Linked DNA regions of Homo sapiens: regions 1, 2, 4 and 5 are each linked to region 3. The links are contacts of gene promoters, found by promoter capture Hi-C in blood cells and fetal thymus (Javierre and others, 2016). All regions are on one chromosome and are shown on one strand. The core of a region is centred on a gene start or on the middle of the fragment in contact, and the rest is flanking DNA. Distances in the headings are between cores, read along the strand shown. Region 1 has its middle 20 kb from the start of CREB1. Region 2 has its middle 80 kb from the start of CREB1. Region 3 holds the start of DYTN (dystrotelin). Region 4 has its middle 58 kb from the start of CREB1. Region 5 has its middle 41 kb from the start of CREB1.

What was found. Contacts are between HindIII fragments. The CHiCAGO score rates a contact against its expected background, and 5 or more counts as called.
Region 1: a fragment that was not itself captured here is called in contact with the fragment with the promoter of DYTN in region 3 in 1 of 17 cell types (fetal thymus); the score reaches 5.2 in fetal thymus.
Region 2: a fragment that was not itself captured here is called in contact with the fragment with the promoter of DYTN in region 3 in 2 of 17 cell types (fetal thymus and naive CD4 T cells); the score reaches 5.5 in fetal thymus.
Region 4: a contact is called between a fragment that was not itself captured here and the fragment with the promoter of DYTN in region 3, in 2 of 17 cell types (monocytes and fetal thymus). The highest score is 7.7, in monocytes.
Region 5: a fragment that was not itself captured here is called in contact with the fragment with the promoter of DYTN in region 3 in 2 of 17 cell types (endothelial precursors and fetal thymus); the score reaches 7.3 in endothelial precursors.

Annotation. Positions count from the first base shown.
Region 1 is chr2:207,506,922-207,512,010 of GRCh38, forward strand. No RefSeq gene overlaps it. Among named protein-coding and RNA genes, the nearest start is that of CREB1, 20 kb to the right of the region's middle. The HindIII fragment of the contact is 1,140 bases long and covers 2,232-3,371 here.
Region 2 is chr2:207,447,666-207,453,005 of GRCh38, forward strand. No RefSeq gene overlaps it. Among named protein-coding and RNA genes, the nearest start is that of CREB1, 80 kb to the right of the region's middle. The HindIII fragment of the contact is 2,710 bases long and covers 19-2,728 here.
Region 3 is chr2:206,715,985-206,721,002 of GRCh38, forward strand. DYTN (dystrotelin) reads right to left here and starts at 2,412. Exons shown (of 12, transcript NM_001093730.1): 1 at 2,277-2,412. The coding sequence starts at 2,295. The HindIII fragment of the contact is 17,717 bases long and covers 1-5,018 here.
Region 4 is chr2:207,469,840-207,474,786 of GRCh38, forward strand. No RefSeq gene overlaps it. Among named protein-coding and RNA genes, the nearest start is that of CREB1, 58 kb to the right of the region's middle. The HindIII fragment of the contact is 8,487 bases long and covers 1-4,947 here.
Region 5 is chr2:207,486,466-207,491,421 of GRCh38, forward strand. No RefSeq gene overlaps it. Among named protein-coding and RNA genes, the nearest start is that of CREB1, 41 kb to the right of the region's middle. The HindIII fragment of the contact is 1,173 bases long and covers 2,258-3,430 here.

The sequences.
Region 1 (5,089 bases), core at 1,552-4,051, 790 kb after region 3:
GAGCAGAGGCCAGACTTCTCCACTGAGTCCTGCTCAAATTGCAGATCCACAGAATCATAAGCAAATGACTGCTTTAAGCTACTTTGTTTGAGGTGGTTTGTTACATAGCAGTAAGATAACGAAAACACAGACCTTATACAAAAATGACTAAATTGTGTAAAGCTACCCAGAACAGACATCTCAAAGACCAGATACCTGATCTAAGAAAGCACAGTCTGTCTCGCCGGGCATGGTGGCTCATGCCTGTACTCCCAGCATGAGCTCCACTGAGTCCTGCTCAAATTGCAGATCCACAGTCATAAGCAAATGACTGTTTTAAGCTACTTTGCTTTGAGGTGGTTTGTTACATAGCAGTAAGATAACGAAAACAGACCTTATACAAAACTGACTAAATTGCATAAAGCTACCCAGAACAGACATCTCAAAGACCAGATACCTGATCTAAGAAAGCACAGTCTGTCTTGCCGTGCGCGGTGGCTCATGTCTGTACTCCCGGCACTTTGGGAAGCCGAGGCGGTGGATCACGAGGTCACCAGTTCGAGACCAGCCTGGCCAACATGGTGAAACCCCATCTCTACTTAAAAAAAATAATAATAATACAAAAATTAGCCGAGTATGGTGGCGGGTGCCTGTAATCCCAGCTACTCGAGAGGCTGAGACATGACAGTCGCTTGAACCCAGGGGACGGAGGTTGCAATGAGCCAAGATTGCACCACTGCACTCCAGCCTGGGCAGCAAGAGTGAAACTCCATCTAAAAAATAAAAAAAGAAAAAAAAAGAAAGCATAGTCTGTCTCAGTACAAAAAATGTAAATGATCAAAGTCCATATCATGGTCCAAATCAGAGAGTGTTCCCTCAATATCCATGCTTGCTTTTTTTTTTTTTTCCTTTCTTTCATTTTTTTTTTAACAGGGTCTTACTCTGTCACCTGAGGGTCTTACTCTGTCACTGGAGTGTGGCAGTGCAATCAAGCCTTACTGCAGCCTCAGCCTCCTGAGCTCAGGTGATCTTCCTGCCTCAGCCTCCTGAGTAGCTGGGACCACAGACGCATGATAATTTTTTAAAATTATTATTTGTAGAGATGGGGGTCTTGCTATGTTGCCTAGGCTGGTCTCAAACTCCTGGGCTCAAGTCATCCTCCTACCTCAGCCTCCCAAAGTGCCGGGATTACAGGTGTGAGCCACTGTATCTGGCCATGCTCCCTTTTTACAGCAATGGGTCTCAAAATGTGGTCCTGGACCAGCATTATCAGCATCACATAGATACTTGTCAGAAATGCAAATTCTTATTCTCCTACTGAATGAAAAACTGGGGATGAGGGCCAGTCATCTGTATTTCAACAAGTCTTGCCGGTGATTCCGATGCACGCCATAGCGTGAGAACCAGTATAGCAATAAAACCTCTGATGTTTAGCTGGTAAACATGGCCACCTGGACAAAGAGACTAGGTAAGGTGGCTGCATAAGGCCCCTTGACTAAGTTCTGTCAAAACAGAAACAACAAAAAGTAAAATAAAAAGTTCTGTCAAAACAGCAAAAAGTAAACAGAAATGTGAAAAGGGGAGTTATCTTCTCTGACTCCTCCTGCTTCATGATGGCTGGAATTCAGATGTGATAGCTGGATCCCCAGAAATAGTCTTAGACAAGAGATGATGCTGAGAAATTAATCCACGCACAGCAGAGCAACAAAGTGGAAGGGGTATGGGACCCTGGCACTGTGGAGCTGCCATATTAGCTCTGAACTGACTCCCTGATTTCCTGAACAGAAAATTTCTACCTTGTTTAAGCCTGTTATTCTGTTTTCTATCTCTATAATATCCTAATGCATGATCTTAATAAAGTTAGTCCCCTTTCCCCTCACCTACTAAGATGTTCTTTAATATAAGAATATTTTCTTTATTGTCACAAGTTATCTTGCAGATTATTTCTTTAGTTGTTTGACTCTCTTCCTATTGGTCTGGAAGCTCTATGAAAGCAGTTACATTTTCTTTATTATTGAATCCCCAGCATCTAATACACACTATCCTCACAATATTTACTGAATGGAAGATGGAAGGATGGATGTAGGCAAACCAAATTTTGTCCGTTTTTGGCACTGATAAATTGACTATGCTTCAAAATAAATCTTTTAAATACTAAATTTTCAACAAAACTATCCCCTGCCCATATCCTAGCTTTGTTCCACATTTAATCTGAATATGAAGCAATAATATCAGTAACAAACACTTTTAGAAGCTTTAAAATGTGCCAAAGACAAATTCCAATACAGGAGCAACCTACAATATACCTGACCAGTCCTCCTCAAACTGTCAAGGTCATCAGAAATAGGAAAGTCTGAGAAACTGACACAGCCAAGGGAGCCTAAGGAGACATGACAACTAAATATAACACAGTATCCTGGGATGGATTCTGGAACAGAAAAGGACACTAGGCAAAAACTAAGAAACTCTCAATAAACTATGGACTTTAGTTCAAAACAATACTCTATCAATATTGCTTCATTAATTATAACAAATGTACCATACTAATGTCAGATGTCAGCAATAGAGGAAACTTTGGGTAGGGTGGGGTGGGGAGGTTACATGGGAACTCTCTATATTATCTGCTTGCTTTTTCTGCAAGTCCAAAACTTTCCTTAGGGCTGGGTGCGGTGGCTCACACCTGTAATCCCAGCACTTTGGGAGGCCAGGGTGGGTGGATCACTGGAGGTCAGGAGTTCAAGACCAGCCTGGGCAACATGGTGAAAGCCTGTCTCTACTAAAAATACAAAAATTAGCCAGGCGTGGTGGCAGGTGCCTATAATCCCAGCTACTCAGGAGGCTAAGGCAGGAGAATCACTTGAACCTGGGAGGTGGAGATTGCAGTGAGCTGAGATCTTGCCACTGCTCCAGCCGGGATGACAGAGTGAGACTCCATCTCAAAAAAAAGAAAAAAAAAACTTTCCTTAAAAATAAAGTCTATTAATAAAAGACGTGTGCCAAAGACTGTTACATATATCAACTCATATTGCCTGTATTAATTCTCATAGAGACTGAGATAGATAACTATGATGAGCCCTATTTTACAAATCCAAAATGTACATTAAGTTATGTTCCCTAAAGTCCTTTAGGCTTATGCTATATGTTTCTTCTGGATCAAAATCTATTTGATTCAATTATTTAACATAATGTGTATTGCTTATTGTGTGCCAGTAAGGGACTGAGTTTAGGCAATTCTATGAGCAGAGTTAAAATTGGGAGAGCAAGGAGGCTTTGTATCAGCCCACTAAAATTTAAAGGGCACAAGCAAACATTTTCAAGAATTTTCTGTTCTGAAATGTGTTATATTTACATGTTGACAACACATATATTTCTCTAACAGGTAGAAACAACTAAGCTTGATATCTAATTATCAAGAAAAATTACTTAAATATGAAGCCACCAGATGGCACAAAGTGTTAAGAACACATAAATCATACATCATATGTTACAAAGCTGATTTAAGAGTGGGTTTGTGTCTTGTACTTATAGTGAAGGCTCTATCTCCGAATATATCCCTGGTAAAAGAACATCTCAAATGAGAAAAATCTCTAAGTCATTGCATTACTTTCCAAAGATATTCACTGTAAACCTTAACTATGATTTTGGCTTAGTGTTTTTATTATTGGCTACCCTGTTGACCAAAACAAAGATTTGGCACCTTGGCTGTTCAGACTGAAACTCCCGGCCAATGCAATTTGACCATGAAATGTTATGAGTGCTCACTATGATAACATGGTACAATTCAGGCAGATATAAGCTTTGCTGAAGAAGTATTCTACAAAGTGCATTACCCATGAGGTTTGATTTCTATACTCTGAATTGGAATCAATTGGTAATATTCAATCCAAATAGCCACCTGAAACAATACCCAAGTGCAATGGACCAAATGTTTGTGATCTCACAAAATTCATATATTGAAATCCTCATCCACAATATGATGATATTAGGAGGTGGGGCTTTGGGAGGTGATTAAATCAGGAGGGTAGAGCTTTCATGAATGGGTTAGTGCTCTTATAAGAGATCCCAGAGATGTCTCTAGGTCTCTCTTCACCATGTGAGGACATGACAAGAAGATGAGAAGATGGCCATCTGCAAGCCAGGAAGTGGGTGTTCACCCACAGAGAGAGATGCCTTGATCTTGGACTTCCCAGCTTCCAGAACTATGAGAAATAAATGTTTGTCATTTAAACCACCCAGTCTATGGTATTTTGTCATAACAGTTCAAGCCGACTAAGACACCAATGGAGCACTTTGCATCTATGATTTCATTGCTTCTCGTGGTTCCTTCATCTGCCTCACTCTATTTATCTTTAAAAGTTCTGCAGAGAGGCTGGGTGCGGTGGCTCACACCTGTAATCCCAGCACTTTGGGAGGCTGAGGCAGGCAGATCACGAGGTCAGGAGATGGAGACCATCCTGGCTAACACAGTGAAACCCCGTCTCTACTAAAAATACAAAAAATTAGCCGGGCATGGTGGCAGGCATCTGTAGTCCCAGTTACTCAGGAGGCTGAGGCAGGAGAATGGCGTGACCCCAGGAGGCAGAGCTTGCAGAGAGCCGAGATCGCACGACTGCATTCCAGCCTGGGCGACAGAGCGAGACTCCAACTCAAAAAAAAAAAAAAAAGTTCTGCTGAGAGCTGAGGTGCGCCTGTAGTCTCACCTACTTGGGAGGCTAAGGTGGGGAGGATTGCTTGAGGCCAGGAGTTCAAGGCTGTTGTATGCTATGATCACACATGTGAACAGACACTGTACCCCAGCCTGGGCAACATAGCAAGACTTCATCTCCAAAAAAGTAAAGTTCAGGGGAGGCCTCAACTCCTTCACAGTCTTTCTTAACCTGATCTGTGTGGGGTCATTTCTATATACTCCCATAGCACCTTGTGCTGACATTGCTCATAGGATTTATCACAATTCAGTACAACTCAACAAGTATTGAATGAATGCCAATGAGACATGGTTCTAGGCACTTAGGAATCATTACTGAACAAATCAAAGATGCCTACCCTTCTAAGGAAAGATAGATAATAAACTACAATACATAAATAAATGTTGTAGTATGTTATACTGATA
Region 2 (5,340 bases), core at 124-2,623, 730 kb after region 3:
GCCCAGGACTTTCAGAAAAGCTTGGTTTTCATTAGATTCTCCTCCAACTCTTTCATAATCTAGGCTTCCTGCCCTGTGTTAATTATATTTCTGACCCAAAACCAACAAACTAAGAGGCTGCATGTTGTGATGGAAAGTGTGTTGGACCAGATGCCAAAAACTGTGACTTTTAGGGCCAACTCTGAAGCTAGCCAGCTGTGTGACCTTGAACAAGTCATTTCTCCTCCAGACCCGTTGTTCCCTCACTGCTTCAATGAACAGTTAATAAGATTTTGTCCATGATTTCTTCCAGGTCAAAATTATGTCATTCTTTCACCCTAATTCCCTTTCTTCTTACTGGTAATATATCATATATAATAACATAGTTTACAATTCTTATGAGCCAGGTTAAGAGTTATTACTACTTCTTACTAAACATAAATTACTACTCATGAATTACTTAACACCAAAAATGAACACTTAACATGCAATTACAAAAAAAAAATTTTGTTAGCTTTATTTGAGGTATGATTCAGCACATGAGGTATTTAACACACCACTGTCAAAGCAAACCTTAGTTTTAAAACCCAGCAAATAAAAACTGGATCTGAGAAACTGGACCTAAGATTGGCTGGGGTCCATCATCTTTATGAGGGTAGACGGACTTAGAATACACCATTTATCTAAGAATTGGGCAGATAATCTGGAGCAAGAGGGCAGGGGGTGGTAAATTGGTGGGAAAATTAAAGATACATTTTCTCCAGCTGTTTGATTTTTCATGCTGTTGAGTTTTAAGGTTACAGTATGTAACCAGAATATGAAACATCACTGGGAGGAAGGGAACTCATTTAATATTATGTTAGTTGTAGAATTATAACTAGGTGTAAAGCAAAGAAAGTAGTTATCTATTATTCATTCCTTCTGAACAGACATTTCCTGTCTGTGAATACAAAGCATGACTAGAATTTACTTGCTGAAACTCAGAGATGCTATAAGAGAACATTTCATTTTCATTTGATCTGACCTTGTGTATGATAATGGAGCTTCTCTAAAACACTGATGCTTGTCTGTTCTCCTTATATTATGCCCCTGAGAATTATTCCTATTCCTGACCTCATAGATGGGGAAATTAACCTCAGAGAGTTTTTGAGACTTGTCCAAGGTCATCGCCAGGTTCAATCTCTTTAGGCAGTCCTGAACAGGTGTGGCCACAAAAATCAGTGAAGTTAGTTATCTGCGTATCTATATGTGACTTCCTATATTATACGAAGTATTTCTCTCACTGATAACTGAGCACATCCAATCTAGCATGTCAGATTCACCAGAAATTAACATGCATTCTGTTCATTCCAAATATCCCTAGCTGCTTAGTGAACCTGTGAATGAATTAAAGATGGCTTCTCAGCATGATGACAGAAAAAAAATTTCTAGCTAGAGACATTGTACCAGACATAGATGCGCTGGACATAGATGTACTAGATATAATTGAGCCTCATGCTCAACTGCTAAATCAAGTATCCTGCCTCCTGACCAAGGCCTTGAGTTGAACCAAAGCATAAAACCCAAACTATAAAGAACTCAATAAACTGAGATAAGACCTTCTTGGTTTTCTCCTGTATTTGGTTTTTCAAATTTAATTATGAGCTAAATCAACTTCAAAATTCAGACCGTTTTGACCTAGAATCTAATCTACTATTTTCTAAAAATTATTAAGTCAGAATATAATCCCATTGAATTGATATGTCATCCAGTTCAAGCCCTCCAAAAATTGATACATTGATACATAGGTAAGTAGGTGGAGGAATGGAGAGATGAAATGGACGAATTCCCCTGCCAGGACTGCAGTTATTTGCTCCAACCTCTAAAACTACCTAATACACCTCTTCACCTAAATACCCCCTTGCTAAAATCCTGACTGATTAAAAAGCGAAGTTAACAAATTTTCTCTGATGAGTTTTTTATCATGTTCATAGAAAGAGAAGTCTGATATAAAGTAGTAACACAAGAATAAACAAACCTATAATTTGGAGTAGCAGCTCCAGGGACAATAATAAGGTTTTCCAATCTCCCAGATCATAATTAACAGTGTAAAGAATTAAAGAGAAGTTCAGGAAGGAGTGCTTAAACCTTTTTGTAAATTTAAAAACAAGTAATGATCTCCATTGCTGTTCTCCAGGTTTATTCAAATTTGGACAATTAGGACAATTAAACATAAAATAGAGACAGCTCTAAAGAGGGAGCTACAACAAAGCAGAATAATTGCTGGGACTGGCTATCAAATTTACATAAAAAAAGATTAAAAAGCTGATTTACATTTAAAAAACAAGATCAGGCAATATCTAAAATAGATAACACAACCTACTGAGAAAAGCTCTTTTCATCAATAAAGGAGAAGCAAAGGTGATTATATATAACAAAACTAATCTTCTATATTGCTTTAATCACCTAAAACCACTTTAACTGTTTATTTGGGAACCATTTTGTGGGGGAAAAAAATATTGCATGTAAAAGCACGTAATTTCTAGGTTGCAGTAAAACACAGACACCATCAAGATCATGCTATATTCTCAGCTCATTACCTGCTCTCTTCTCTAGATCCTGTCTTCTCTTGGTTATCAAAAATTCTCACCACTTACAAATTCATTCATTCTAGAACTTGAAAATTTGCCATGTAATTGATATAACAGATGCTTCCAGAACAGATGTTCTGCTTATTGTTACTGCATCTCATGAACAAAGTAGATTATAAAGCTTTTTCCTTCCTGGACTAAGCACTTACATGGCATTTTGAGCTTTTTTCAAAAACGAAAAAGAACATAATTACCTGCATTTTAATATGTACTGTAGGATAGAGGAAAAAAAATCTCTTTGTCTCTTTATCCATCTTAGGTTCTCCAGGTGGGACTCTATAAATTAGGCTAACAAAAGACAGATTAACAAGAGAAAAGTATACACATTTATTTAATGGAAGTTTTACATGACACAGGAGCCTTCATCAGAAAATGAAGACCCAAAGAAACGATTAAGCTGAAGTGTTTTTATACCAGGTTTGATAAAGAGTGAAAAGTCATGCAAAAACATGACAGGACAAAAGGGTATGAACTAAGGTTCTGAAAGAAACTTAGCAAGGCCTGTTCATTCTGATTCCTCATAGTGTGTCCTGTCCAATAAATCCAAAAACACTTACTGGCTTTGGTTCTGAATCTCTTGGTAGATACTTCCAGTTTAAAAGAAAGAAAAATAAGAAGAAAAAAGGCCAGGCATATTTGTTATTTGCCTTTGCTGAAATTATAAGATATTTGAAATAATTTTTTTTTTAAGAGCTCTATGGTCAGAAGTTAGCTTAATAGGAAGCTGATATTCAGGCTACAATTTTTGTTAAGTCCCCTCTGTTGTTCTGTCTGTTGGATCCTGCTTCTATCACAGGAACGTCTCAGTCTACTGAAACCTCTCTTACTGAACCCCTGCTAACCATATGGTCAGTCCCTCTGTCCACATTTTTTTTTCTTGTTGGCATGATTTTCGCTGAGGATAATGTGGAAATTCATGTACCTTTTTGGGAAACTTGAGACCTCCCCAAACTAGCTCCTGTAAGACTTCTTTCCATTTGCTTCTGTTCCTCCTTCCTCCCTTTGGCACTTACAATCTGCCATCCAGTTCTCTCGAATCCTTGATTTATTCTCCTTCAAATCCTTACCTCCTCCATTTAGTGGTCAGTGGATGAAAAATTACTAACAGGAAACACCAAAGGTAAGAAAAATTTCAGTCTCTATAGTCAAACTTTAGGTGGGCTTCTGGACCTTCTCCTAGGACTATCCATGTACATCCTTGTAGAATCCTGTAGTGAATTCCTATAATTTTATGTCGCCTCAGAATCCTTTTGAGTCCTCCTCTATGTGTCACCTAACTGACACACCTCAAACTCCTTCTTGGAAAAACTTGCATTCTTTCTCTGTGCCTTTGAGATATAAATTTTCTACCCTTTCTTCTCTAGAATTTGATCATTACCATTTGGAAATACTGTTGTCCTTTGATATCCACAGGAGATTGGTTCTAGTACCTCCCACAAATACCAAAATCTATGGATGCTCAAGTCCCTGATATAAAATAAGATAGTAGTTTCATATAACCTATGCACATCTTCCCATATTCTTAAAATCATCTCTAGATTACTTATAATACCTAATATAATGTAAATGCTATGTAAGTAGTTGTTATACTATATTGTTTAGGGAAAAATGACAAGAAAAATGTCTGTCCATGTTCAGTAGAGATGCGTGCTCTTTAAAACAATATTTTCAATTCCTGATTGGTTGAATCCACAGAAGCAGAATCCATAGATACAGAAGAGATGACTGTCAGGGAGATGACTGTCATCAAAAAGAAAAAAACTGAACTGTTTAGAAATTGGTCAAATAAAAAATCTTAAAAGCCTTTTCCACAAAAAAACTAGTAAAAAAGCTTTAGCCAGGCCAACTGTGGTGGCTCACACCTGTAATCCCAGCACTTTGGGAGGCCAGGGCGGGCCAATCATGAGGTCAGGAGATCGAGACCATCCTGGCTAACACAGTGAAACCCCGTCTCTACTAAAAATACAAAAAATTGGCCGGGCGTGGTGGCACACGCCTGTAGACCGAGCTACTAGGGAGGCTGAGGCAGGAGAATCGCTTGAACCTGGGAGGCGGAGGTTGCAGTGAGCCGAGATTGCACCACTGCACTCCAGCCTGGGTGACAGAGCTAGACGCCAACTCAAAAAAAAAAAAAAAAAGCTTTAGCCATCTGAGCAGATAATCTTAACTTGTATCATTTATCAGGTCTAGCTAGTGAGTCTTGAATTATCAGACTTGGTGCAAGGCTAAAAGTGTTAGAGTAAAAGATGTAAGATCTGCTTCTATCTGTATGTTTATGTCATTAAATATAATACAGACATATATTTTTGCCTGCGTTTGCTGGCCAGACAGGTGTATTGTCTCTGCTAGATGGTTAAGGTCATAAAATTATAAACGCAACCTTCAAACAGAATACACAGTAAAAATGAATTCCTGAATTGCTTGATGCACATCAGTCACGGAGAAAAAAAAGAGGAAAGAACCATGTTTAACTTTCTTGTTTCTTTGCTTCTATGATATTTTGCTTGCCTGATTTGTCAACAACAAAAACAACTTGAGACAGAGGTTAGCTTTGTTTGATGTCTCATAAAATTGTCATGAACAGTTCACATAAAATTGTTAAGAATGAGTGAGTTACTGGCTGGGCGTGGTGGCTCACGCCTGTAATCCCAGCACTTTGGGAGGCCGAGGCTAGCGGATCACAAGGGCAGGAGATCGAGACCATCCTGGCTAACATGGTGAAACCCCGTCT
Region 3 (5,018 bases), core at 1,162-3,661:
GGCTGAGGCAGAAGAATCGCTTGAACCAGGGAGTTGGAGGTTGCAGTGAGCCAAGATCGCGCTACTGCACTCCAGCCTGGTGGCAGAGCGAGACTCCATCTCAAAAAACAAACAAACAAACAAAAAACAAAAGAAAAAGAAAGAAAGAAAGTGAACTCAGCCTAAATTTCATATCAAGGTACAGTGCCTTGATTTTGATTTAGGAAATGATGTTTCTTGCCCTTGAGTGTTGTGGGGTAAAGTACTAGCTGTTACACATAAGATACTGAGTGCCAGGCACTGTGTGGAGCCACAGAGGGGATTAGAGTGCTGAACCAGGCCAGAGCCACCCCAGGCCAGAGCCATCCCAAAGTAGTGAGAACATGCCACAGGCCTCTCTCTGAATGTATATCCATCCAACAGTCAGCATATGATCATGGATTAAAGACATCTACCTCAGGTGAAGTGGACTGTGCCTAAACATTGTCGCCCAAACAAGAGAGGTTGTTTAAAAACCGTCTACATGTTTTCCTTTCTTTTTCAAGAGGTACAAACATATATATAACTACAATTTGCTCTAAATCTTTTGTTATTCATCATTTCCTTAGGCTTTAAAAATGCTTAGTTTTCAGATAAGATGCCAATGTTAGAGAATGGGAGATGTCAGAAACTCCTCTGTCCTATGTTTGGAGAAAAAAAAAATTGAGAGTAGGCATAATAGGGTGGAAATAATTTACAATAGTGTAATGCCCAACATTTCTTTCCTCTGGAAATTGGCCAATGTTTGTGCCCTGGTTCCTCTCAGATGCACCAAGCAGATACACAGAATCAGCAGACAAGGGGCTCTGCAAGTTCCCAGATGCTGCTCTTGGTAGAGGAGCGACTCTGTAGCTGCTCTACCATCTGGCCATCACTCTCCTGTCAAGTTATGCTTTACAGCGTCATCTGATGAAGTTAGGCAGCATAACACGGCAAGCTGTGATACAGTGCAACATGGAAAATGAATGAGGAGCCCAGGTGAGCCAACACCAGACCCACTTCCTCAAGGCTAACTTTTACATTTTTTTTCTGCCGATGCAAACACACACACACACACACACACACACACACACACAAAACAAACTCAAGAAAGGAAGAAACTACCAAATGTATCACGCCCAAAGCTATGAACAAAGCAGTTTTAGATGCTTAAAGAAATAGTAACACAAGCTACATGTGTTCTTCTTCATGGAAGCAAAATGATTGGGAAATATCTTTTGACCAGGATTCTTGTTTTTGCTCAGCTACATCAGTATATTTATTTTCCACAGATACTAAGGTGGATATAATACAATTCTTTCAAATGTCCATCATCTAGTTCAATGATCCAAAATAGATGCTGTAGGCCAGTGGTCCTCACAGTGTGGTCCCAAGCCAGCAGCATCATGTCACCTGGGAACCTGTTAGAAATGTACATTCCTGGACTCTTCCCAGACCCACGGAATCACAAACTTTGCAGCATATTAACAAACCTTTCAGGTGATTCTGATGCATGCTAATTTTGAGACACACTGCCTTAGAAAATTGAGAAAGAAGAAAATTGAGAGTTGAATGGATTACCTACTGCTTTGTGTAAAGCGTATTAATATGAGAGCCCAAATTTGGAAAACCCAAAGGTATTGTAATCATTTATAATGTTGTTTTAGATAAACAACTAGGGATCATACAGAATTTCATATAAAACAAGTAAGATAACAATGTAGATTTTGGTTAGGGGAGTAAGGCTCCAAACAGATCTAGCAATAGAAATCCCACAGATCAGTTCTGGGCCTAACTTGGCATTCAGCGATGTTAGAAGAAAGGGGAACTAGTTTCTCCATATCCACTTATAAAATTTTCATATAGTGACAACTGTGAGACCTTTCTCCCAACTTGAACTACACAGTACTGTGAACTTACCTATGACATTAAAATATATACGATAATTTCATTTTAATAGTAAACTATGAATATACATAAAACTAAGGTAATAGTTTCTGTGTATTTGAATAGCAATTCAAATGTAATTATGTTGACATCAAGTCTTTTGTTAGATTATTTTTGGTGCTTTCGAGACAATAGACCAGATACTCTTCAGTACATGGTGGATTTCTGTTTAGAAGAGAGAGAAAGCCACTTTAATCAAATAACAGTTTCTTTTTCAGCCAGAAATTTGCCAAATGTTTACTCTTCTTCAAATCAGAGGTCTGAAAATATAACATCTGTGCCTAATTTTTCTGTTTACAAACTATGCTCAGAAACTTGACAATAATACTCACCTTGTTTATCTGGATCCATTTCACAAATTTCCTGGAATGACAGATGGCAAGTGGGTCCCTGTAACTAGAAATGAACCAGTATTTTAAGCAGAAGGTTTTGCAGCAGAGGAATGAGGACAGGGGAACAAAAAGGCAACTAAACAAATCATTTTACCTGTGGAAAGTGACTGCAAGGTGTTCAAGGTGACTGAAATATCTTGGGAGGAAGAAAACAGGGAGAAACATAGAAGCAGAGGCTCCTGATACTGACCACGCTTCTCAGAAAACTGAGAACAGCTCCTGAAACTAATACCATGATGACTTAGAGGCTTTGAGGCATTGTAATTTTAAGAGTGGACTGTATTCTTACTTTAAGATGATATCAATTTACTTGAACTTTAAGAACAAAATTTGAAACTCTCAATACTTAAATTTCTAATAATACTATGCTAAATCATTCTACATATTAAATTTCTAACAAAAGCTATCAACTTGTCATATATATGCATATATACATACATGTATGTATATGTATACATAGGATTCTGTTAATAATTAATTTTTAAAAGAGTAGTCAATTAGCTACCTTTGTTAATTGTTTCATGTTGCAACTATTGTTCAAACAACACACACACAAGAGGTTTGTGGAAAATGTATATTCTGAAAAAAAATAGGCAAGGATTTCAAAATTTTTTTGTACCAAAATAAACTCACACTAGATTGTTGAAGCATGTCTGAACAGGATTTAGTTTGAAGCATTAAGAAGGATAAGATATCAGTCTGAAAATAGCTCTTGAGAGCAACATGAATTCTGCTAAAATGGAAGCAAGAACAAACGTCAAATTTATGGTAAAACTTGGGTGGTAAAATAGTAAAATCATTGATGCTTTACAAAAAGTTTATGGGGACAATGCCCCAAATAAATCAATAGTTTACACCATGGAATACTATGCAGCCATATAAAGGAACAAGATCATATCCTTTGCAGGGACATGGGTGGAGCTGGAAGCCATTATCCTCAGCATACTAATACAGGAACAGAAAACCAAAGACTGCATGTTTTCACTTATAAGTGGGAGCTGAACAATGAGAACACATGGATGCAGGGAGGGGAACTACACACACTGGGGCCTGTTGGAGGTGCAGGAAGAGGAAGAGCATCAGAATAAATAGCTAATGCATGTAGGGCTTAATACCCAGGTGATGGGCTGATAGGTGCAGCAAACCACCATGGCACATGTTTACCTGTGTAACAAACCTGCACGTCCTACGCATGTATCCCAGTACTTAAAATAAAATTAAATTTTAAAAAAAGAAAGGAAAAAAGAAATCAGTAGTTCACAGAGAGATAACTCATTTTGAGAAGGGATGAGAGGATGTGAAAGATGAAACCCACAGCAGTGGACCATCCACATCAGTTTGCAAGAAAAAAATGAAGTTTTTTCTTTAAAGAAATGTGAATGCTGTAATTTAAGAGGACAATTAACAGAAGAAACAATAGCCAACTCCATAGATAGCTCAACTGATTGAGCTTACACAATTCTAACTGAAAAATTGAAGTTGCGCTAGCTTTCTACCAGAAGGGTGCCAAAACCATTGCACGTAGATCAGCTGCAGACAAGAGCAGGGTCAATGGAAATTTTAAACATGTGGGACCAAGATTCTGAAGCCTTTCTTTGCAGAATTGTAACAAGAGATGAAACATGACTTTGCCAGTATAATCCTGAAGACAAAGTACAATCAAAGCAACGGCTACCAAGAGATGGAAGTGGTCCAGTCAAAGCAAAAGCAGACCTATCAAGAGAAAAGGTTCTGGCAACAGTTTTTAGGATGTTCCAGGTATTTTGCTTGTTGACGGGCCAAAAGAACAATAATATCTGCTTATCATGAGAGCATTTTGAGAAAGTTAGCCAAAGCATTAGCAGAAAAACACCCAGGACAGCATCACCAGCGAGTCCTCCATGACACTGCTTCTGCTCATTCTTCTCATCACATAAGGACAATTTTGCAAGTGATTTGAAGAGAAATCATTAGGTATCCACTTTACAATTCTGATTTGGCTCCTTCTCTTTTCTTTTTGTTTCCTAATCTTAAAAAATCTTCAAAGGGCACCTAGTTTTCTTCAGTTAATAATGTCAAAAGGACTGCACTGACATGGTTAAATTCTCAGGATCCTCGGTTCTTTAAGGATGGACTAAATGGCTGGTATTATCACTTACAAAAGTGTCTTGAACTTGATAAGGCTTATGCTGATAAATAAATTTGTTTTTATTTTTATCTTTTAATTCCATTTTTCCATGAACTTTTGAAGTCTCTGTGTGTGTCTAATATACTATATATATACACATATATATTCATTTTCAGCAAAAAGAATGGGTTGTGGTGTAAGAAAAGCCTTATTAGTTCTCAGAAAAAGATGTAACATGGGTACATAACTACCTGTGTTATCATGGGTAGTTTAAAACTGTTTTTAAAAAGTTATATGATAATTACATTTAAATAATACTTTACCCTCCTTCTAATGAATGAATGAATTAGAGCACAAGTTATTTGGGCAGATAAATAACATTTTACAGAAAGCAAAATTAAAGAAAAATCTGATTACATTCATTCTTTAAAAATATAACAGTGGCCAGGCACAGTGGCTCTCACGCCTCTAATCCAGCACTTTGGGAGGCTGAAGGAGGCAGATCACCTGAAGTCAGGAGTTTGAGACCAGCCTGGCCAACATGATGAAACCCCATCTCTACTAAAAATGCAAAC
Region 4 (4,947 bases), core at 1,835-4,334, 750 kb after region 3:
GGACCTGATCTTGTGTGTATCTTCCAGTCATAGGGGAAAGAAATGCACGCTCAGGAGGAGACAGCCCCAAAGCATTCTGTGACCTAGTGGCACTGCCAGGTTTTGCTTGCAGGTGCCTCTTTTTGATGTGGACTCAACCCTTCCTTTCCCCATGGCCAGAGTTGGGTGGCATTCTCTTAGGTAATTGCGGTGTCCTGCTATGAGTGCAGCTCCTGCATATAGAATCAGCCACAGATCCCATGTCAGCTGGAAGCCACAGATGACCAACTGCAAAATCAATAGGCCTCTGTCGCTGCCATAGCAGGGAAATCCAGAGCTTATCAGCAGCATCATGATAAGTACCTATTTGCCTGACATCTCCTCAATCAATAACTTTGTTATTGTTTGCATTATCTGACTATAAGTTTGGTCAATATACCCAGCTAATGGGTAACATGAGCCAGGATTGCATTTCAATTTTTTTTTTAAGTTTAACTGTCTCTGTGCCACAAGGAGTAATTAAGTGAACCTCACCAGTCCTGCTTCTGTCCTTCCTGAGTTTTATCAAATCCTTCTCTGATATAGGCTGTCTTGAGACAAGGAAATTAATGTTGCCCAGATCTAGACAAAATTGAATAAACCCTGCCTCTCTTTGCTGTTACTTTTATTAGGTTTTCACAAGGATGAGCAGATGGTTTGAGGGTGTGTGTATGTGTGTGTGTGTGTTTCTGTGTGTGTGTGTGTTTCCTTTACTTGATGCTCTGGAGAGAAGATAACAAACTTGCTAGTGGGCAGATCAAGATGCACAATGTAAATGGTGCAAATGTGTATTGGTCTAAAGAGGTTTTGAACCCCTCTACATGATTAGGCTAAGATATATATGGTAAGACCAGAATAAAAATAAATATCTTTGAATTGTGTAACAAATCGGCTCCATGCACTGTATCAGAAGGGCCCTGGCCATTGTCTCATGAATTACCAGCAGATGGCCCAGCACACAGAGATGGCTACATCTGGCCTCTCACCTTTTTTGGGATTGCACAGGGCTCTTGTACCAGATCAGGCTCAAAAGGTTATGGCCAACAATAAAAGAAGAAATAAAACTTGTAGTAACAACAATGTGTAAGGCACCAAATGCTCTGATTTTCTTGTCACATTAAAAATATTTACTGGTTTCTCCAGCCCAGATTTAGCGGCAACCCCAAGCACAGAGGAAATAAACAAATCACTCACTCACCAGAATGAGCTGGTGGCATCATCGCCAACTTCATCATTCTGCCCTTCGGTGCTTTTTCTTTTCTTTTTTTGATTGGTTCTAGTAAGTTATTCATACATAATGGTATCAGTGATGGGGTATAAATACATATATCACAGGAAGGGTTTTGTTGTTGTTGCTATTGGTTTTGTTTTTTTTTTTTGTAAATTAACTTTACAAGCATCCTGCAGCGTTTTCAAATTGTAAACTGCTGTTTCCTAGTTCATAGACTCGTAGAACCCCAGAGCCAGGCTTAGAGCACGTCCAATCTGTTCCTCTGATTTACAGCTGTGATAACTGAGGCCCAGAGAGGTGAATGACTGCTCAAGTCAAACATCTCATCCATCTCAGCATTGGATCTCAAGTTTCTGCCTCCAGACCCCCTGTCCTGCAGGACCTTTTGGCTTTGCTGTCCTTATTTCTCTTCTTCTGATCCCTCATCTGCTCCTTCCTTTGCTGATCATTAGAACAGGAAGAGGGATAAGGGGCAGCTGCCTAAGGTAAGGCAGACGCTTGACCTCTATCACAAACCCTGATCTCATCCTTCAGGTCCTCTTTGCAGTCTGGAAGGGAGAGGAAAACAGGAGGAGAGAGTGGAAACCAAGAAAGTATCCAAGAGGAAGAGATAAGGAAAAAACGGCATGGGGAGAGGTTTTTGTGTCTACCTGCTCAGATACCAGGAGAAGTGAATAAATGCCTCCCCTACAGCTCTCCTGCCCTCCTCCCACAACTGTGAAACTAAAGTCTTAATGAGAATTGATCCAGCAAACAAATAGATCCAAAGGGGTAATAGGACTGATATGGATCTTTCATGGGAAATTGGATGTATCATGGGAAATAAGGAGTCATAGAAAATTATGAATGAAAAATAAGCATAATCAATATACGATTAGAGATGCAAGGGGAGTGGGTAATGATTCCAAGGCACTGACTGCTTTGTTTCACATCATGATGCTCATCACAGGAACCTATGTGCTCCAGACTGGGCCATGCAATTATGACCAACATGCTAGCTCCCTATGCTGACTGGCTGGACTGAATTAATTACTTTTATTATTATTATTATTATTATCTTAAGGAGACAAGGTCTGGCTCTATTGCCCAGGCTGGAGTGCAGATCTGGTGTGATCTCAGCTCACTGCAACTCCACCTGCCAGGTTCAAGCCAACCTCCCGCCTCAGCCTCCCAAGTAGTTAGGAATACAGGAGTGCACCACTGCTCCCGGCTAATTTTTGCATTTTTGTAGAGACAGGGTTTCACCATGTTGCCCAGGCTGGTCTCTAACTCATGGGCTCAAGAGATCTGCTTACTTCAGCCTCCCAAAGTGCTGAGATTACAGGCATGAGCCACCATGCCCGGCCTGAATTAGTTACTTCTTCAGCTTCCTCGTCTTCTAGCTAAAAACCAAGATCACACCTTCAAATGCTATGATTTCACATTTACATTCTGCTCTTTTTCTTTCTGTCACGTGATCCTATCTTTAAATTTGGGAAGGATGGGGAGAGAAGGCTGTTGAGAGATGTTGCATGAACATTCATCATACAAGCCCATGAACCTGAGAGAGAATTCAGCAAGAAAAGTGAGACCAATAGGTTTGTGTGGAGCCTTCCTGTGTGGGCCACGCTGGGTTGGCCACGCTTTCCTTTGTTGCAGATGACACCTGGCTAGTGTCCTGTCTAGGATCCCAAATTCTAACTAGGTTTCCTCCTTCATGAACTGTTGGGTTTTAGTTAATGATTCACCCCTTCAAACACTCAGTTCTGACCCAGGACTGACTCAAGGCTTCCCAAGTCCCTGCTCGCAAATAACAGAATTCTTTGGAAATAAGCTCTTTTAAGAAAGTCTGTCCTCGCACTGCAATCTGAAACGTAGCAATTCGGCCTCTCCGGCCATCTTCATCTGTGTGTTTCTTGCATACAGAATTAAACTGGAAGGTCAGAGCCATTGTCTGTCTCTAGATCCGATTTCTTGCTTCGTAGTCTGGCGGGGAAGTGCTTTAATCTGGTATATTTACATTAGTCCTACTAACACATTTCCAAGTTCTCCAGCTGCCATGCTACGTGAACCAGGTCAAGTCTGGGAGGGAGAGGTTTGCTTTTCCTTCCTGTGACCTCAGGACTGATTTAATTAAACATCTCCTCCAGCCCCGATTTATAGTCTGAAAAGTGTTCTCACAGAGGCCCTTCGATGTGCTCTGCTTTTCAATTAGCTGAAATGCAATAAGTTAAATCGAAACACCATTCTGAGTGTCTGCTGCCACCCTGAGAGCAGTTGCAACAAGCGCATTCGTCTCTGAGCATTTAACTGCAAAGGGTTTAGATAAATGAGTGGTGGTTTCCTTTGGTAACTTAGCACGGTTCTGTAAGACAGATGAGAGGATTGCTGAGTTCCTCCCTGAGCTCCTGGGGGCTGCCAAGCTATCTCCCTGGATTCCCACTGTGAGGAGGAAATAACCTTTTAAATCTTATTTTATAAACACAAATTCTTTTTCTTTAAGATTAAAAATAAGAAAACCCATTTAACACATGGGGTAGGGGGGCTGAGGAAGTGAAGGGGAAAAAAGGAAAAAGGATGTCACAGTGGAACTGTCCTAAGCCTGTCCCTGGTGGCTTTTTGTTTTACCATCAGGCATCAGATGTCCTCCCCAGTTTGACAATCCTGACCCCCCAACCTGCCACCTAGGAATGAATGAAACCAAATTTCCCATAGGAAATGCTCTCTGCTAGTCTCTCAAAGGCTTCAGCCTCAAAATGAAATCTGACAAAAGAAACAAATTAGATTAAACTGCAGCGCTAAGGGCTTTGGATTGCTCAGATAAAAGAATCTACAGAGAGTTGTTAGGACTGAGCACAATCATCTTCTGCAACTTGGAGAAAAAATCTGAAGTCTTCCTTCCTACAGCTGTTCTTGCTGGCCATGGTGCAGTTTTTTTTTATCATCATCTAAAGGCAATAAACAGATGGTGGGAGATGGAAGGGCTCACGAAGGACCACAACCCGCGTGCCCACAGAAGCCGGGCAAGTAATATATGTGGACAAAACTGATCAGTGAGGATTTTTATGTGAGCTCTCCAGATTTTTAAATGTTGACAACTCATTCAATTAAAAAAAAAAAGAGTCCACCACTGTTACCGCAATGTTTACTGAGCACTTTCTATGTGCCAGGCACCTTATGAAATCCATTATAAAGTGCATCCTCACAACAGCACAGTGAGAGGCAGATGCTGTTATTACCTTCAGTTCATCTATGGGGAAAAGCAAATCTCGAAGTGGCAGAAGCAGCCCCTGCCCACAGCTGGGGCCCTGTTTCTATTTACTACCCTAGACTGCTTACCAGTTCTGTAGATGGCCGGGCGCGGTGGCTCACGCCTATAATCCCAGCACTTCGGGAGGCCGAGGCAGGTGGATCACGAGGCCAAGAGATCGAGACCATCCTGGCCAACATGGTGAAACCTCGTCTCTACTAAAAATACAAAAATTAGTTGGGCATGGTGGCGGGCGCCTGTAATCCCAGCTACTCAGGAGGCTGAGGCAGGAGAATCACCTGAACCCGGGAGGCGGAGGTTGCAGTGAGCCAAGATCGCACCACTGCACTGCAGCCTGGGCGACAGAGCAAGACTCCAGGGGAAAAAAAAAGTTCCGTAGACAAAGAAATTGATGCTCACTGGGATTCATGTGGCCAGAATCATAATAATAGTCGGGTGATTTTTTTTT
Region 5 (4,956 bases), core at 1,594-4,093, 770 kb after region 3:
TAAAATAAATGGTACACAGAACTTGAATCTCTTACTGTTTGCTCACCACTGTTTTTGAGATGCATTCATGTTTACATGGCTGTAGTTAATTCATTTTTAGTTGCAGCATTCTATTATGTGAATTATATGTTTCTATTCATTGGTATTCTATTACTATTACCACTCATTATAGTCTTCAATTGTGGTCATCAATTACGTAACTATATCATAATTTGTTTCTTAATTCTCCTAAGGAACAGAATAAGTGGATGATAGAATATGAGCATTTTTAACTCTAAAGAGAAATTTAGTAACAATTAATAATCAAACCAATTTATACCATTTATACTCCTACTAACAGAGGTTGAGAGCTCCAGTGTTTCATCATCTCAGAAACACTTTTCACATCTTTGTCAAACTTTTCCATTTTTGCCCATGTGATGGAGGTAATATTTAATCTCATTTTTATCATGGTCTATATACACAGATTGAAAACATTTTCTTTTTTTTTTTTTTTTTTTTTTTTTTTGAGACGGAGTCTTGCTCTGTCACCCAGGCTGGAGTGCAGAGGCGCGATCTCGGCTCACTGCAAGCTCCGCCTCCCGGGTTCACGCCATTCTCCTGCCTCAGCCTCCAGAGTAGCTGGGACTATAGGCGCCCGCCACCACGCCCGGCTAATTTTTTGTATTTTTAGTAGAGATAGGGTTTCACCGTGTTAGCCAGGATAGTCTCGATCTCCTGACCTTGTGATCCGCCCACCTCGGTCTCCCAAAGTGCTGGGATTACAGGCGTGAGCCACCACGCCCGGCAAAAACATTTTTGCAAAAAGATCTTATAGGTCAGTGGTTCTCAAAATGTGTTCTGGGGACCTCTGAGATCTATACAGGTAGTCACTGAGGTCAAAACTATTTCATAATAATACCAAGATGTCATTTGCCTTTTTAACTCTCATTCTTTTACAAGTGTACGGTGGAGTATTCCAGAGGCTATCTGACTTGTGACATGTGATACTGCAACAGACTGAGTAGAGATGCAGATATGAGGATCCAGCTATCTTTTTATTAAGCCAGACACTGAGGAGATTTGCAAAAATGTAAAGCAATGCCACCAGAATTATTTTTGTTTTGGAAGAATTAACTATGTTTTATTTTTAAATCATGTTAACTATAATGGGTCTATTATTGTTCTTATAAGAATAAATACTTTTAATGTTTCAGTTTTAATTTCTTATGTGGTAAATATTACTAGATATACATATAAGCAAGAGCTCTTTGGGGTCCTCAATAATATTTTAAGAGTATAAAGGAGACCTTATGAGGCCAAAAAGTTGGAAAATTGCTGTTACAGGTCATACCCTTTTCTCATCATTCCTACTCAAATGAATGCCAGCTGACACTTAGAGGGTGCTGTGTGCAGATGGGGCATTGTGCTAAGTGCTCAAGGGTCACTTTTCCTTTAACCCTTATGATACTCTTGTAAGCAGGTGCTGTGATCAGCTGCACTTGAAGGACAGTAAGCTGAGGCTTGGGGCAGCTGGATAGAGTGCCGGGGACACACAGCCAGCAAGGGAAGCCATTCCAGCTACTGTCCTCCCATCCTCTCCAGTTTTCTTCTCTTAGTCATTCTCTGAGTCAGCCAGCTTGAAGCCATCTACGCTTCTTTGACTCATCCCTCTCCTTTTTTCTTGAAATGATCTACATTCCCTTCTGAAAGCAGCAGAGGGACTCAAGGTTTGGACGCTGGGTTCCTGGAGCTGCAGCCGCCAGTAAGTGTGGCGAGGTCCCAGGCTTCCAGGCAATAGAGCAGGGAGCCAAGGGGGATGTGCAAGAGGAAACCCAGGAAACAGACCCTCCAAAAGGGCAAAACAAAGGGGGAAAACATATTTGGTAGTCAGGTTCTAGAAGGAACGATTGCTGAGGCCCTGGAAAGGTAGATCCCTTTCTTCCGGGATCAGGCCCACGAGACGGGCGGAAATATTAATCATACTCCTCAATCTCTATTCCCACTCACTTACTTCATTCGGCAAATACAATGGTGTGATAAGTGGGCAGTGATGGGGTAATAATAACAATAACATTTATTGGGCACTTACTATGGGAAAGTGACTATTTTAAATACTTCGTGGATATTAACTCATTTAATCCTCATCTGAATCCAGTGAAGTAAGTACTTGTCTTACACGTGGAAAAACTGAGGCACAGAAAAGAAACATCAGAGTGTAAGGGAGTGAGCAGGAGAGGCCCTTAACTTGCCCCTGGGGGAAAAGGTGATGAAGAAAAGCTTCTCAGATATGGCACATGTATTCGTTTCCTATCGGTGCTGTAGCAAATTACCAGAAACTTAGTTATTTATTACATTTTTTCATAGGTGGTTTTCAATGGCCTACAGAAACTTAGTTATTTAAAACAACATTTATTGTTACAGATTTATTATCTGACAGCTCTGGAGGTCAGAAGTCTGAAGTGGACTTCACTGGGCCAAAATCAAGGTTGTTGGCAGGGCCGTGCTTTCTCTGGAAACTCTAGAGGACAATCTGTGTCCTTGCTTTTCTGGTTTCTAGAGATTACCTACATTCTTTTGGTTCATGACTCCTTCCTCTAGCTTCAAAGCCAGTAGCATAGCATTGCCTCTCTCACTTTGTTTTTTTGTTTTTGAGACAGGGTCTCACTCTGTCACTTAGGCCAGAATGCAGTGGCACAATCTTGACTCACTGCAACCTCCAACCCCCAGGCTCAAGCAACACTCCCATCTCAGCCTCCCGAGAGGCTGGGACTACAGGCGCCACTACTGGTACTTTTTGTATTTTTTTTTTTTGTGGAGATGGGGTTTCGCCATGTTGCCCAGGCTGGTCTTGAACTCCTGGACTGCAGTGATCCTCCTGCCTCAGCCTCCCAAAGTGCTGGGCTTACAGACATGAGCCACGGCACCCGGCCAGCATTCCCTCCCTGATATCTGTGTCTGGCCTTAAATCTCCTCCCTCCCTCCAGTGCAATGCCTCCCTCTGATAAGAACCCTTGTGATTACATGGGTCCCACCTGGACAATCCAAGCTATTTGCTCATCTCAAGATCCTTAACTTGAACACATTTGCAAAGTCCTTTTTGCCATGTTAGGTAACACATTCACTGGTTCTGGGGATTAGGATGTGGACATCCTGGGTTGCGGGGGGGCATTATTCAGTCATTTAACTAATCCTGGCTGATATTTATTGAAAGTCTACCATGTGCACTCTTCTAGGCACTAGGGAGGTAGTGATAAATAAGATCCGAAGACTGCCTAGGAGTCAACCAGGTGAAACAGGATGAGGGAAAATGTGCTCTAGGCAGAAAGAACAGTATAGACCCAGAGAGGGAAGAGAGCAGCTCCCTCCAGAACATGGGGTTCAGCCTGTCTATTAAGCATTGGCTATCCCTGGCTGCTTATTAGGAACTGCTGGGGAGATTCTTTACCAAAGCTTCCTCTGCCCCCGTCCCTGTCCCCAAGTTCTGACATCAGAGATGGGACCTGGGCATCTATCTGGTATTCTAACATGCAGCCAGGAGAAAAATCATTGGTCAGCAGAGTGGCATGAAAGGACACAGGTGCCTAAGGCTGGGCATGGTGGCTCACACTTGTAATCCCAGCACTTTGGGAGGCCAAGAAGGGCAGATCACTTGAGGCCAGGAGTTCAAGACCAGCCTGGGCAACACAGCGAAACCCCGTCTCTACTAAAAATACAAAAATTAGCCAGGCATGGTGCCGCATACCTGCAGTCCCAGCTACTCAGGAGGTTGAGGCACGAAAATCGCTTGAACCTCAGGAGGCGCAGGTTGCAGTGAGCCGAGCACTCCAGCCTGAGCAACAGAGTGAGACTCTGTCTCAAGGACACTGATGCCTAGTCATGGGGCTGGAGAGAAAAGCAAGAACCAGCTCATGAAAAATCTTGTAACCCAAGAGTATGGATCTTACACGAAGGGTTTAATCAAGGGGGCAACATAATCAGGTTTGTTCTCTACAAATGCCCTCTTACTGCACATTGTGAAGGGAGTGGAGAGGGGCAAGGGAAGAATTAGAAGATGGTGGAGACTGGATTTAGCATAGGTATAGTGGGAATGGATGAAATCCATTCCATTTGCAGGAAGCAAAGATACGAATGGTTTCTGGAATGCCTATAATTATTGCTACAGCCTCCTAACTGGATTTCCCAACCCCACACTTTTTCCCTTCTCATCAACCCTGTGAATCACCACCAGATTTACCCATCCTTAAATACCACTTATTGTGTTAAGGAATACTAGGCAGCCTAATAATTAAGTGTATTTGCTCTTGGACCGAACAGACTGGGTTCAAATCCTATCTCTGCCACTTTACGGTGCCCCATTTCCTCATCTATAACATGTGATACTAAAAATAGTGTTTACATCAGAGGGTTGCTTTGAGTCAATGTAGGAGAACTTCTATAATTACCTGTGTATGGTAATCATTCCAAAAAAAAATCATTATTCAAACACCTTCAATATAAAACCTTCTGTTTTCCATTTGTCGGAATGCCAAGGTCTGCCTGTCCAGATCCTTCACCTTTTGGGTCCACCCTGCTACTCAGCCTCGTTGAATTCTGTCCCCAAAATATGTCACATGAACACTCCAGATACAGCACCTTTGTGCCTGGGTCATGCTGCTTTCCTCATTTTGAATGCCTTTATTTTTCCCTGCTACCCTCCCCAGTCCTTCTGTCCCTTAAATGCTTATCATTACTTCTAAAAAAGTGACTCCCAATGCCGTGACTGGTGACCATATGACCATACCCAGTATAATCATCTTTCCCAAGGGAGGACTGCCTGTCATTCCTACCAGGAGGCTATCATTCCAAATAACTCACAAAGCCACTCATGCTCGTAACTGTCACTGCTATCTAAATGCTAAGCACTCACAGAAGGCCCAGAGCATAAACTTGTCTTTCCCATGCTTTGTGGAGCACCATGGATGCCCCTAGAAGCCC